Linked DNA regions of Homo sapiens: regions 1, 3 and 4 are each linked to region 2. The links are contacts of gene promoters, found by promoter capture Hi-C in human tissues and cell types (Jung and others, 2019). All regions are on one chromosome and are shown on one strand. Each heading gives the region's core, a stretch centred on a gene start or on the middle of the fragment in contact. The rest is flanking DNA. Distances are from core to core; before and after follow the strand shown.

Region 1 (3,202 bases), core at 359-2,858, 180 kb after region 2:
AGCCTCCTGAGTAACTGGGACTGCGTTTTTTTGTTTTATTTTGTTTTTAATTTGGTCTTGAAGTGGAGTTATATAGGGTGGGGGGAGGGAGGATGGAGTATGACTTGAGGTGTGGGTTAGGTTCTGAAGCGAGCCTAGATGACAAAATAGCTTACAAGCAAAGCTACCCTTGAAATCTCAGGGAGGCAGCATGTTAATTGTAGGAATACCAGTGTTGCAGAACTCTGACATGGCCAGTGTGATATTGTAAAATACATATTTGGCCTTCATCCCTGTCTCCTGTGGCATATGACTCCTATAATCCTTGAAATCTCCAAAATGATTAGTGTCTTTTTATATGCTAAGGAGCTGACTGATGGCTGGCAGCCCCTAAGTAACTTTAGCATGGGGGCTGGTCACTTGAAAGACCCAGGCAGGATTAGAGGGTTGGGACCTTCAACCAATGTCCAACCTCTGGGGAGAGGAGAAGGCAGACGAGCTGATGACCACCAGCGTCACTGGTTTAATTAGTCATGTCTAAGTAATGAAGCTTCCATAAAAATCCAAAAGACTGGGATTGGGGAGCTTCTGGATAGGTGGACATGAGAGGTTCCTGGATGATGGTGCCCCAGAGAGTGCATGGAAGCTCTGTGCCCTTCCCACATGCCTTGCCCTATGCATTGCTTCATCTGTATCCTTTGTAATATGCTTTTATAATAAACCAGTATATGTAAGTAAAGTGTTCCTCTAAGTTCCTCTAAGTTCTGTGAATTGGTCTAGCAAATTAATAGAACCTAAGGAGGGGGTCATGGGAACCCTGATTAATAGCCAGTTGGTTAGAACTACAGGTAAAACAACCTGATTCTTGTGGTTGGTATCTAAAATGGAGGCTAGTCTTGTGGGACTCACCCCTCAACCTATGGGATCTGACGCGGTCTCCATCCAGGTAGGTAGTGTCAGAATTGAACTGAATTAGAGGACACCCAGCTGGTTGGTGTCTGCTACAGAATTGGTTGGTTGCTTGGTGTGTGGGGACATATCCCTCACAGAATTATACTGTGTTGATTGTTGAGTGAGAGAATAGCAAAAATGCTTTGGTTTGGTTTGGGTTTTTTTTTTCTCTATATCCTCAGGCAAGTTTTATTTCGGCTTTGGAAAAAACTGCTGTTTTTCTTCCTGTGAGCCCCAGATGAAGTTGTTGGTTTGTATTTAGGAGTCACAATATGTAAAAAATACAATGAATACAATCATTCATGCATAGTGAGGGAAGTATTTATATTCAGAGAGGTGCATGTGAATGAGGATCAGCTAAGGGAACCGATATTTAAATTAGTTATCTTTCTTCTAGTGTGTATAGGTGAATTCAAGATAAATGCACATTTGAGACCCTGCCCTTGTGCTATGGAAAGATAAATAAATCAATACTTTTTTTTTAACTTCTTTTTTTTCCCCCTCGCCAGGCAAGGTCGGTCTTGTGCTGTTGCCCAGGCTGTAGTGCAATGGCCCTCATAGCTCACTGTAGCCTGGAACTCCTTGGCTGAAGCCTTCCTCCCACTTCAGCCTCCTAAGTAGTGCACCATCACACCTGGCTAATTTTTAAATATTTTTGTAGAGAGAGAGTCTCACTGTGTTGCCCAGGCTGGTCTTAAATTCCTGGCCTTAAGTGATGCTCCCAGCTTGGCCTCCCACAGCTTTGGGACTGCAGGCATGAGCCACTGTGCCTAGCCTGTTTGTCTGTTTGTTTGTTTGTTTGTTTTTAATAGAGTTGGGGTCTCACCATCTTGCCCAGGCAGGTCTTGAACTCCTGGGCTCAAACAATCCTGCCTTGGCCTCCCAAAGTGCTCAGATTGCAGGTGTGAGCTAGTGCACCAGGCCTTAATTTCTTTTCTTTTTTTTTTTTCTTTTTCTGAGACGGAGTCTTGCTCTATTGCCCAGGCTGGAGTGCAGCGGCGTGAAATCTCAGTTCACTGCAACCTTCGCCTCCTGGGTTCAAGCGATTCTCCTGCCTCAGCCTCCCAGGTAGCTGGCATTACAGGCACATGTCACCACAGCCAGCTAATTTTTGTATTTTTAGTAGAAATGGGGTTTCACCCTGTTGGCCAGGCTGGTCTTGAACTCCTGACCTCAAGCGATCCTCCTGCCTCAGCCTCCCAAAGTGCTAGGATTACAGGTGTGAGCCACCATGCCTGGCTGAATTTCTTATTGTATGTGTTTCATAGATGCCTGAAAGATTATTGCAAAGCTGAATTTTTTATTGTATGTGTTTCATAGATGCCTGAAAGGTTATTGCAAATTGCTCCTTATGATAAACATTTAAAATATGGATTAAATTTCTTTTTCTGTGGTTTAGTTTTTAGATTCTTTTAGTCTCCTTTGCTACCGGAATATGTTAATTAAGCTTTGGTGTTAGAAGATTGACTTCACTTTGCCTAGTAATAAATACTAACAGCGGGCTCTCTGTTAGTAGTTGTTGTTCTCTAAATAAATTTTATGATATAGGAAAAGTCAGCTAAATTTTTAAAAATCTAAATAACTGTATCTTGGTAGAAGTGCCTTCTGGCCAGAAATAAGTCTTTATTTGAAATATAGATGAGTTAGCCAGATGGCAAATTCCTCTTAGTTGCTGTCCTGCATTTTGAAGTACAGTGTGACTTGAACATCAGAGTAAAAAATGTTGGAAAGCAATAATCTATATTTACTCACAAAAGGAAATGGATTGACCTATTGCTTTTGCTACTGAAAGTGAAGCCTTAAAACAACAGAACACAGAAACCTGATTCTGGTGTGTTTTAACATGTACAATCTAATTAATTTTAGAATTAGAAGGATATGGTGGCCAGTGATGTAAACACTCAAGTAGTTTGCCATCACATAATTCAATTCCATAGGAAACCAGATCTCATTACTTTGTGTCATGGCACTAGCTAAATGGAGTCATTTTTCAAGTTAGGAATAGCAATTATTTGGGGAGCAACAATGTAAGTTTTGTATTTTAAAACATGTGTAGTGTGCTATGTAAGAACTGAGCCCATTTTGTCCCACCACCCTGGAAATTAAATGGGACGGTCTCCAATGTAAACCCAGTAGTTCAGTGTTACCAGTTACTTTGGCTTGAAATATAAGAACTTTGTTTTCTTGACGGTCAGGCAGATTTGAAAACCACGTTCTTTATTTGTGCCAATTTGGACTCTAAGTTTGGTGGACAAAGTGAATTTTGAAATGG
Region 2 (3,473 bases), core at 681-3,180:
CATCTCTTCCAGCCAAGCCATCCTGGCAGGCATCTGGTAGCCCTGCCACATTCCTCTCATCCCTGGGTGTGTCCCACCCACCAGCACCTGGGCCATCCCAGGCTGTACCCGTCAGGCCCACCAAGGCCCTGTGGCCCCAGCTCCCTACTCACACCACGCCAGGCCTCGGGCAGGAGTCTGAGGTCCAGTAGAAGTGTTTCACCACGCGCAGGGGCAGACGGTAACGGACGTAATCACGGCAGCAGACGCTGTCTTCCATGTTGGCGCCGTAGGGGCCTAGGGGAGGGGTCCCCAGTGAATTCACAAGCTGGAGCCCAGAGAGGTCACCCTCGGCCCCAGCCCCTGATCTCGGCCTCTCCAGGCTCCAGGAAAGAGATGCAGTTTTTCTGTTCTCATGTGGAAGGATGGTGACCAGAGGATTCTGAGCCCTCCAAGACCCTACCCTTGGAGCTTCTGAGAAGCCACTTAGGGTCCAATGTCTACACTCTGGGACAGTCAGCTCTAGGAGCGGGGATTCAGAACAACTAAGCATCAGCTGTAGCCTGAGGCCCAATTTCCTCCTCTGACCAAAGGGGTAATAACAGTACCAGCTTCAGAGGGTCTTTAATGCATGAAAAGCACTCAGAAAGCCCAGCAGCTGGGAGCAATTCTTGTTTATAGCTGCCTGACCCCACTCCAGTGCTCACTCCTCCACCCAACACAGCAAAAGTATAGAGTGGGGTGGAGAAGAGGAGTCAGGAATCCATGCTGAGGACAGGTTCTGGACAAAAATGGATAGTGAGCCCAGAGCAGTGGCTCACGCCTGTAATCCTAACACTTAGGGAGGCCAAGATGGGAGTTTCACTTGAGGTCAGGAGTTCGAGACAAGACCGGTCAGCATGGTGAAACCCCATCTTTACTAAAAATACAAAAATTAGCCGGGCATGGTGGCAGGTGCCTGTAATCCCAGCTACTCAGGAGGCTGAGGCAGGAGAATCACTTTAACTCCAGAGGTGGAGGTTGCAGTGAGCTGAGATTGCGCCACTGCACTCCAGCCTGGGCAACAGAGACTCCATCTCAAAAAATAAATAAATAAAATGAAATAAAAAATAAATTTAGGCTAGACGCAGTGGCTCATGCCTGTAATCCCAGCACTTTGGGAGGCTGAGGTGGGAGGATCATCTGAGGTCAGGAGTTTGAGACCAGCCTGGCCAACATGGTGAAACCCTGTCTCCACTAAAAATACAAAAATTAGCCAGGTGTGGTGGTGCATGCCTGTAATCCCAGCTACTCAGGAGGCTGAGGCAGGAGAATCGCTTGAACCTGGGAGGTAGAGGTTGCAGTGGGCCAAGATTGCCCCACTGCACTCCATCCTGGGCAACAAGAGTGAAACTGTGTCTCAAAAAATAAAATAAAATAAAATAAAAAATAATAATAATAACATTTTAAAAAATGGATGGTGGGAGGGCAGCACCAGCTTTCCAAGGGAGAACCCCTTGCCCCAGCCCTGCCTTCCCCCACTCAGACCTGACCCTTAGAAGCTCCTCACCCACACCCCTAGGGCCCTATGCTTGAGTTTTCTGGGGCAGGAGATCCCGAGGCTATGCCCACCACAACCCCCAACCCAGGTGAGACAGATCCTAGACTCCAAGTCTTCAAGACTGCCCATTCAACAGACTTGTAAACTGAGGCCCAGAGAAGCACTGCAACTAGCCGAAGGCCGCAAGAGCCAACAGCAGACTGAGGTCTTCTGCTCTTGGTCCAGTGCTTGTCCAAGACATGAGGAAGACACCCCACCGTCTGCCCTGGCCTCTGTAGGGGGTCTTCCTGCTCCCCAGCCTCACCTGCCTCAGTTGCTTGAAGCGCCACAGCAAGGAGGACGAGGACAACCAGGAGTGCAGTCTGTAGGCGATCCATGCTCTGTCCTGTATGTCTCAGCCCAGGTGTCTGCAAAGGGACATAGGAAGACCTGCTATTTAAGGTGCTGGCTCCACCCACAAGCCTCACTTACTTACCTCTTAGTCACCGGGGTGCCCAGAGTCACTTGACATTCACATCTCAAAAGAAGAACTACCTCCCACTTCCTCCAAAGTGGAGAAATTCTCTTTGGCGGGGAACCACTCAGAGGGGACCCCCCCTCAACTCTGTCCTCGCCTCTGGTTTCAGACAGACTTGTAAAATCCCCCTCTTAGAGGCTTGTGCTCCCCAGGGTCTCTGCACTGTGTGGCCTTGGCCATGTCTGGGTGTCTCTGGGACTTGGTTTCCCCATCTGGAAATGGGGGAGATGGTTTCACAGCTCTGTTGACTTCACTGGTTGTAAATCAAGTGAGAACGTGGACCAACCCTCACCTAGAATTGAGGCCTGTCTTGTACCCTTAATGACGGCATTACTGGTCTCTCTTCAATGGGAGAGGCCTATGGACCCATTGACCCATCTGGGGCTTCTCGTGAAGTCCACATTTGGGCCAGGTCGTGGATTTCTCAACGGTTTATGGAAAGCATCTACCCACACTTCTGTCCTGCCTGATCTTCCTTCCCAGTGGCTGCCGGGCTCTCCCTCCCCCACTCCTGTCTCAGTCCCTCACCATGTCCATGTCCCGTTGATTCTGCTTCCTAAATCTCTCTCAGATCTGCTCCTTCTCTCCAACCCCACTGTTCCTGCCCAGTCCAGGCCACCTCCACCTCAGGCTGGGATGCTGGCCTCCTCAATGCCATCCCCACCCTGCAGCAGCCAGCGTGAGTGGTCCAGAGCTACACACTCTCTCTCCTGCTTCAGAACCCTGCCGTGGCTCCCCATTCACCTAAAGGCAGGTCCCGGGCTCCTGTCTGTGGCCTTCAAGGCCCCGTTTCCGGACAGGCCTTTCCCCACTGGTCTCCTTCCCCTGAGGGATCACACCACACTCCTCACACTTCCTCAAAAGGGACTGCGGCCTGTCCCTGGCCTTTAATGTCACTTTCCACATCTCTACCACATAAACTCCTACTTATGCGTCAAAGCTGTTTGAAATGTCATGTCCTTGGTAAGCACACCCTCTCAGGACTTCAAAGCCTTCTAGGGGACCTGGAATGTGGCCCTGAGCAGACTGGGTCAGGTTTTCTCTTTCTCAAGCCCCTCCCTAGAAGTCAGACTCCAAGCTCTAGGAGGCTGGGGTCTCCCTTCATTTTTCTTGGCATTCCCAGGGCCCTCTGAGGATCAGGCACATGTTGGGTGCTCAGAACACATGGGCTGGGTGCAGTGATTCATGACTGTAATCCCAGCACTTTGGAAGGCCCAGGCAGGTGGATCACCTGAGGTCAGGAGTTCAAGACCAGCCTGGCCAACATGGAGAAACCCCATCTCTACCAAAAATACAAAAATTGGCCGGGTGTGATGGCATGCGCCTGTAATCCCAGCTACTTGGGGGGCTGAGAGGCAGGAGAATCGCTTGAATCCGGTGAGAGGCAGAGGTTGCAGTGAGCCAAGATTGCGCCACTGCACTCTAGCCTGGGTGAGA
Region 3 (3,055 bases), core at 19-2,518, 180 kb before region 2:
CTTTCAACATTCAGCCACGCATAACAAATACAAAGCAAATGAATCGACAAGTGAAACTGCCAGTCTTGCAACGTATGGGATTTCATGAAGTTGGTGGAAGCAAAGCAGGAGAAATGGAACAGCCGCTGCCCACAGAGAAAGGGAACGTCTGCAAGGGAAGTGACCCAGACCCGAAAAAAGGCACTGGACTATCAAAGGATTCAGAGTGATCCTTGAGTTTGAGGAAGCTCTCAAATATTTTTGCAAAAATGAATCTCTTACTGCAAAAACCAGTTCAGAAGGGAAGGATGCTACATACTCAACTATTACAAGAAAAAGCAAGACTTCCAGTGTTAACATCTGATTCATTCTTGGTTCATTTTAAGGCGTGCGTGGTTGCAATCATAATCTAAACTCCGTTAATCACGGGGTAAAACTAATTTATCTTCGTAATATTTAGCTTCTTTTTCTAGGTAAAATCCCAATCAGGCCAGGTTTTCCCCACCATCTTGGTGAATTGTTGGTCTTCTTTTAAATAGATTCACCTCGGGGGCCTTCCAGGGTACAGGATGTAGTGGGGAGTCCTCCAGACGCCTGTCCCGGCTTTCCAGTCAAGACCACAAACATCCTACCCCCAATAGAGAGAAAGCCCCAAAACAGCTGGGCGTCCCCGAAGGCGAAGTACCGTAATTCCCCAGGGCCTGCCAACCACCATCGCAATGCAGAGAAAAGTCTCCGCCCGCCGGGCCGAGTGCTCCCCGCGCCCCCCACCTCTTAACAAGCGCAAGGTTGCTTTCGTCAACCCTTCTGTTGTACAGAAAGAGAAACTGAGGCCCGATGGGCACAGACTTGTTGGCCCACTTCCACTCGGTGGCAGAGCTGGCCCAGGGAAAAATGCAGGTAACAACAGTGAAGACTTGGTAAGCTCGCTCCACGTGCCGAGCTGGGACCCGCGGTGGCCGTTTCTGCTGGGGGCGCCTAGTACGTAGTTGGCGCTGAGGAAACCTGAACCAAGAAAGCCGAGCCCCCCCGCAACTCTCGGCCCCTCACGGGGGTGGGGCCTCCGTTGGGGTACGGCCCGCTCTGCAGCAGAGCCCACCGCCCCGGCCCGCACCCCTCGCCCCGAAGTTAGGCTGGAGCCCCCACCCCAGCAGCTCGGTGGGCCGGGGTCACAGCGGGGCCGCAGCCTGCGACCGCTTCGGGGGCCCCGCCGCTCCCCCTGCTTCCCCTCCCCCCGGGAGGGAGGAGGAGACTCCGCGGCCCTCCCTCGGCCCCTCCGGCGGCGGTCGCAGCTGCACGGTGCCCGCTCTACCCCGCCGCAGCGGCTGGGACGTACGGAGCCCGCAAGTCCCGGCCCGAGGTGAGCGGGGGCGGCAGGCCGGGGGGCGGCAGGCCAAGGCGGCCCGGGAACTTGCTCCAGGCCGCGCGCCTTCCGCGGGAAGGAAGGGGTTAAGTTGTGGGGCGTGCTGGAGGAGCAGACACAGTCGGGGCGCCCGCGGCAACCCCCGAACTCAGAGCAGAACTTTCTAGACGCCTCCCCGGCCTCCCTCAGCCCCCGGAACCCCAGGTCTCCGGTGGGGAGGGGCCGCGGGGTGATGGGGGAGGGGAGGCGCCTCCGGAATGCCGCGGCCCGGGCCGGACGGGAGGGGGCGGCGGGCGGGGACGGAATTTGGGACTCTCCCGGGGGACCCAACGTGGTCGCCATGGCGAATGCGGGATGGACGGGCGGCGCTGGCCAATCAGAGCACGGCGCCCTGCCCAGAGCCGCGGCGACTGCCAATGGGGGCCATGCGGTGGGGTGGGCGGGACCGCGCGGCGCGGGCCGGGAACCCCCTCCACCCTCCGCCCGTCGCTAGGTGGAGCGGGGCGGTTCGCAGGGCCAGCGGCTTGGGAGGGGTCGACTAAGTGAGGACTAAGGCGACGCAGGGCTGGGGCTTCAGTTTCAGTACCTTAGGTGGGGGTGGTGTCCACCTTCCCACCCCCGCTCTCCCAGGGCTCTTGTGGGGGTTGGATTGGTTTGGGTTCGGGAGGTCTGCCCACCTGTTAGAGCGTTCAGGAATCTTTTTAGTGCCTCTCCCCATCCTGTAGGTAAGGAAACTGAGGCCCAGAGAGGGCAGGGACTTGCAGATATCACACAGCATATCAGTGATGGAGCTGGGACTAGCGGGATGTCTGCTGTACAAGAGTGAAGAGTTCACGGTGTTGCCGAGAGGGGTGGGGCTGGGGTCGGGGTGGGGCTGGGTCCCCATGAAGGTTCACCCCACCATTCCAGCTGTGCGTATCCACTTGGCCTGGTGCCTGCAGACCCCATCGTGTAGGTGCTCTCGGGGGCATTGTGCCCCTCAGGTGGCTAAGATCCAGAAGAGGAGGCATCCCATCACCAGCTCCCTACTCTGGCCTTGCTGCTGGTCCGCGGTGTGGACACAGACACGTAGCTGTCCCTCTGGGCCTCAGTTGGTCCATATGTAAAGAAAGGAGTTCAAATCAATGATCCAGGCTGTCTCTGTGGCTCCTCAGTCTAAGATGGGGCTACCTGGGAATAGGCCAGGGGTGCCTACCCCTGGGCTTAGGTCCAGCCTGGAGGCCTAGCCGCCATCCCTTCCTTTCCCGCCAGCCAGCTCCCCCCAGAGGTCCTGCAGCTGGATCCTGGGCAGCAGGTCACAGGGACAGGTGCCCGCAGTCTGTGGGCTGACCAGCCTTGGGCCCTGCACTTATTCAATCAGGCTGTCCTCTGTGGTTTCCCACTGGGCTCTGCTTTCTGTCCACAGCCAGGCCTGTGGCCATGGGCTTGTCCCAGGGCCCTACCTGAAAGGCTCTGGGAGGATCTACAGGGTTTCAGAGCCGGGGAAGGGGTTGGGGCACTGGGCTCCCCATCCCTTCAGCTGGCCCCTGTCCAGGCCTTGGCATTGCTCATTCCTCTCACTGATATGGAGAGACCCATCCAAACATGCTGAGGACAAAACACAACGCTGTTCCCAGTGGGTCAATTAGGCTTCCCCAGGTAAAAGGTGGGACAGCCGACTTGGCCGTGAGATGACCTCTTATTCCAACCCTGGCCAGACAGGCTCAGATACCT
Region 4 (3,436 bases), core at 654-3,153, 160 kb after region 2:
CTGCCCGGCCAGCCGCCCCGTCCGGGAGGGAGGTGGGGGGGTCAGCCCCCCGCCCGGCCAGCCGCCCCGTCCGGGAGGTGAGGGGCGCCTCTGCCCGGCCGCCCCTACTGGGAAGAGAGGAGCCCCTCTGCCCGGCCAGCCGCCCCATCCGGGAGGGAGGCAGGGAGGTCAGCCCCCCGCCCGGCCAGCCACCCCGTCTGGGAGGTGAGGGGCGCCTCTGCCCTGCCGCCCCTACTGGGAAGTGAGGAGCCCCTCTGCCCGGCCACCACCCCGTCTGGGAGATGTACTCAACAGCTCATTGAGAATGGGCTATGATGACAATGGCGGTTTTGTGGAATAGAAAGGGGGGAAAGGTGGGGAAAAGATTGAGAAATCGGATGGTTGCCATGTCTGTGTAGAAAGAGGTAGACATGGGAGACTTTTCATTTTGTTCTGTACTAAGAAAAATTCTTCTGCCTTGGGATCCTGTTGATCTGTGACCTTACCCCCAACCCTGTGCTCTCTGAAACATGTGCTGTGTCCACTCAGGGTTGAATGGATTAAGGGTGGTGCAAGATGTGCTTTGTTAAACAGATGCTTGAAGGCAGCATGCTCGTTAAGAGTCATCACCACTCCCTAATCTCAAGTACCCAGGGACACAAACACTGTGGAAGGCCGCAGGGTCCTCTGCCTAGGAAAACCAGAGACCTTTGTTCACTTATCTGCTGACCTTCCCTCCACTATTGTCCTGTGACCCTGCCAAATCCCCCTCTGCGAGAAACACCCAAGAATGATCAATAAAAAAAAAAAAAAAGAAAAAGAAAAAAAAAAACAAACAAAAAAAACAAAATGAGTAAACTGAGGTTTGGAGTGGGAAAAAAAAAAAAAAGAAATTTCACTGATAAGGCGCTGTTAGAATATTTCAGGTGAAAAGAGGTAAACAATTCAAGGTTTTTGGACAGGTCTGGCTCTGGGCCAGTAGGTCAGATGATTGTGCCACTGGAATATTTACTTGAAATTGTATTTTATTAAAAAAAAATCTTTATCTAGAAACCTTAAAATATACACATTCATTTCTAAAACCTAAATGCTGCACAGGCCTATGGAATGTGAAAGTTCCTCTTCTGCTCTACCTAGCCCATGCCTTTCCCAGAGATAACTAACCTCTTAAAAGCTTCATATGTTTGCCTCCATATCTATTATTATATACTTTCAAACTAGCTTTTTCTTTTTTTTGAGATGGAGTCTCACTCTGTCACCCAGGCTGGAGTGCAATGGTACGATCTTGGCTCACTGCAACCTCTGCCTCCCACGTTCAAGTGATTCTCCTGCCTCAGCCTCCTGAGTAGCTGGGATTACAGGCGCACGCCACCATGCCTGGCTAATTTTGTATTTTTAGTAGAGACAGATCTTCACCATGTTGGTCAGGCTGGTCTCAAACTCTTGACTTCGTGATCCGCCCGCCTCGGCCTACCAAAGTGCTGGGATTACAGGCATCAACCGCCGCGCCCAGCCGCTTTTTCTTTAAATCTAACTAGAATGAAGCCATAAATATTGCTCTATGATTTGCTCTTTTTAATACCACAACCTTCTATATCAGTATATATGTAACTACCTCATGCATTTAAAGGCTGTACAGAAATTCATACTCTGTATTATCATAATTTCTTGACCACTATGCTATAAAAACTTGTGGCTAACCCAACTAACACTTTGGGGATGGTAGAAGGGAGTAGTCCAGGATTAGAGACATGGGACCTCTTCTGGGGAAATGTGTCATCCCCTGGGGAAGTGCTAACTCCAAACTCCTTCCTCACAGTGGTAAGGGTCCTAGGACTATGATCTGTGGTGTCAACATTGCCACAGCAGAGGGGAACTCCACTGGCTGCTCTAATACCCCACAGCCTTTCCATACAATCTGTATGAAGGTGGGATGGGAAACAAGATGCAAACAGTAGATTCAATCCAAATTGGGGAAAACATACCTGAGGAAGGGAGACTAATCACGTACTAAAAATAACTGGCAATGATTTGAGAATGTCAAGTTCCAGAAAACAAAGCCTTGAAGGGGAGAGAACAGGAATCTTGTTGCTCAGTAATTTCAGGGGGAAAAAAAAGCAAAAAGAATAGGGGAGCCTATAAAGTTACAATTTAATGCCAACACATAAAAGTATTTAGGAATAATTAAGAAGAAAACATCTTGGGGGTGCCTGTGAGGAAAGAAGTTAAAAAGAGGTTTGTTGGATCTTAAATTCTTAAACTTTATCATTTTTTCCTAAGGTTTTTATACACTGAATACAGAATAATCTATGCAGATTTCCATTTAGTACAATTTTTTTTTTTTGAGACGGAGTCTTGCTCTGTCGCCCAGGCTGGAGTGCAGTGGCGTGATCTCAGCTCACTGCAAGCTCCGCCTCCCAGGTTCATGCCATTCTCCTGCCTCAGCCTCCCGAGTAGCTGGGACTACAGGCACCCACCACCACGCCCAGCTAATTTTTGTATTTTTAGTAGAGACAGAGTTTCACTGTGTTAGTCAGGATAGTCTCGATCTCCTGACCTCGTGATCCGCCTGCCTCGGCCTCCCAAAATGCTGGGATTACAGGTGTGAGCCACCGTGCCCGGCCCATTTAGTACAATTTTAAGGTGATTGGATGATATCCAATACACGCAGATTTTTTTTTAAAATCTGACTAAATCTGATAGGATGGGCATGGTGGCTCATGCCTGTAATCCCAGCACTTTGGGAGGCTGAGTTGGGAGGATTGCTTGAGCCCAGGAGGCTGAGACCAGCTTGGGTAATGTAGCAAGACCCCATTTCTACAGAAAAAATTAAGAAATTAGCTGGGCATGGTAGTGCACACCTGTGGTCCCAGATACTCAGGAGGTTGAGGTGGGAAGATCACTTGAGCCTGGGAGGTCGAGGCTGCAGTGAGCCCTAATGGTGTCATTGCATTCCAGCCTATGTGACAGAGCTAGACCCTGTCTTTGGGAAAACAAAAACAAAAACAAAAACAAAAAACAAAAACTGACTAAATACGAAGGTAAGAAGACAAAAATTAAGTTTTTTTCCAAATTGAACTAAAGTGTGTTTTGAGTCAGTTTCTTCCAAAAGAGCAATTTTCCTTAAATGACCCAGAAAATGTCAACTATAAAATTTGTCAGAGAAGAAAATGAGGCTTTTAAAAAAACTGTAAATACTTTAAAGCCAGACTTTTTTTTTTTAAATAAAAAGGACCATCTGTGAAAACCAAGTGTAAAGAAGAGGTTAATCAGGTGGAAGAAGCTGGAAGGCATTTTATAAAGGCAAGCCTATGAAACGTACAAGGAAAAATCAAGAGCTGTTACCTCTAAATACTTTCTGAGATGACTACACAGAGTACTCTTGAGGGCTACAGCCACAGACAGGGCACATAAATGAACAAAGTAGATGATCTTTCAGATTTATCTGGCACTGAAA

Evidence for each region. Contacts are between HindIII fragments. The study calls those that stand out against the background at their distance.
Region 1: a contact is called between a fragment that was not itself captured here and the fragment with the promoter of CCL22 in region 2, in 1 of the 25 tissues and cell types used here (lymphoblastoid cells).
Region 3: the fragment with the promoter of CCDC102A here is called in contact with the fragment with the promoter of CCL22 in region 2 in 1 of the 25 tissues and cell types used here (lymphoblastoid cells).
Region 4: a contact is called between a fragment that was not itself captured here and the fragment with the promoter of CCL22 in region 2, in 1 of the 25 tissues and cell types used here (aorta).

The regions. Positions count from the first base shown.
Region 1 is chr16:57,179,277-57,182,478 of GRCh38, reverse strand. All of the region lies in intron 1 of PSME3IP1 (proteasome activator subunit 3 interacting protein 1), which reads left to right. Among named protein-coding and RNA genes, the nearest start is that of PSME3IP1, 5.2 kb to the left of the region's middle. The HindIII fragment of the contact is 3,333 bases long and covers 1-3,202 here.
Region 2 is chr16:57,357,240-57,360,712 of GRCh38, reverse strand. CCL22 (C-C motif chemokine ligand 22) reads right to left here and starts at 1,930. Exons shown (of 3, transcript NM_002990.5): 1 at 1,824-1,930; 2 at 153-276. The coding sequence starts at 1,896. The HindIII fragment of the contact is 38,120 bases long and covers 1-3,473 here.
Region 3 is chr16:57,534,784-57,537,838 of GRCh38, reverse strand. It overlaps CCDC102A (coiled-coil domain containing 102A), which reads left to right and starts at 1,268. Exons shown (of 9, transcript NM_033212.4): 1 at 1,268-1,339. It also overlaps a transcript of ADGRG5 not described here. RefSeq lists a silencer at 1,026-1,975. The HindIII fragment of the contact is 34,087 bases long and covers 1-3,055 here.
Region 4 is chr16:57,197,271-57,200,706 of GRCh38, reverse strand. The region is part of intron 1 of RSPRY1 (ring finger and SPRY domain containing 1); the gene reads right to left. Among named protein-coding and RNA genes, the nearest start is that of RSPRY1, 13 kb to the right of the region's middle. The HindIII fragment of the contact is 3,972 bases long and covers 1-3,436 here.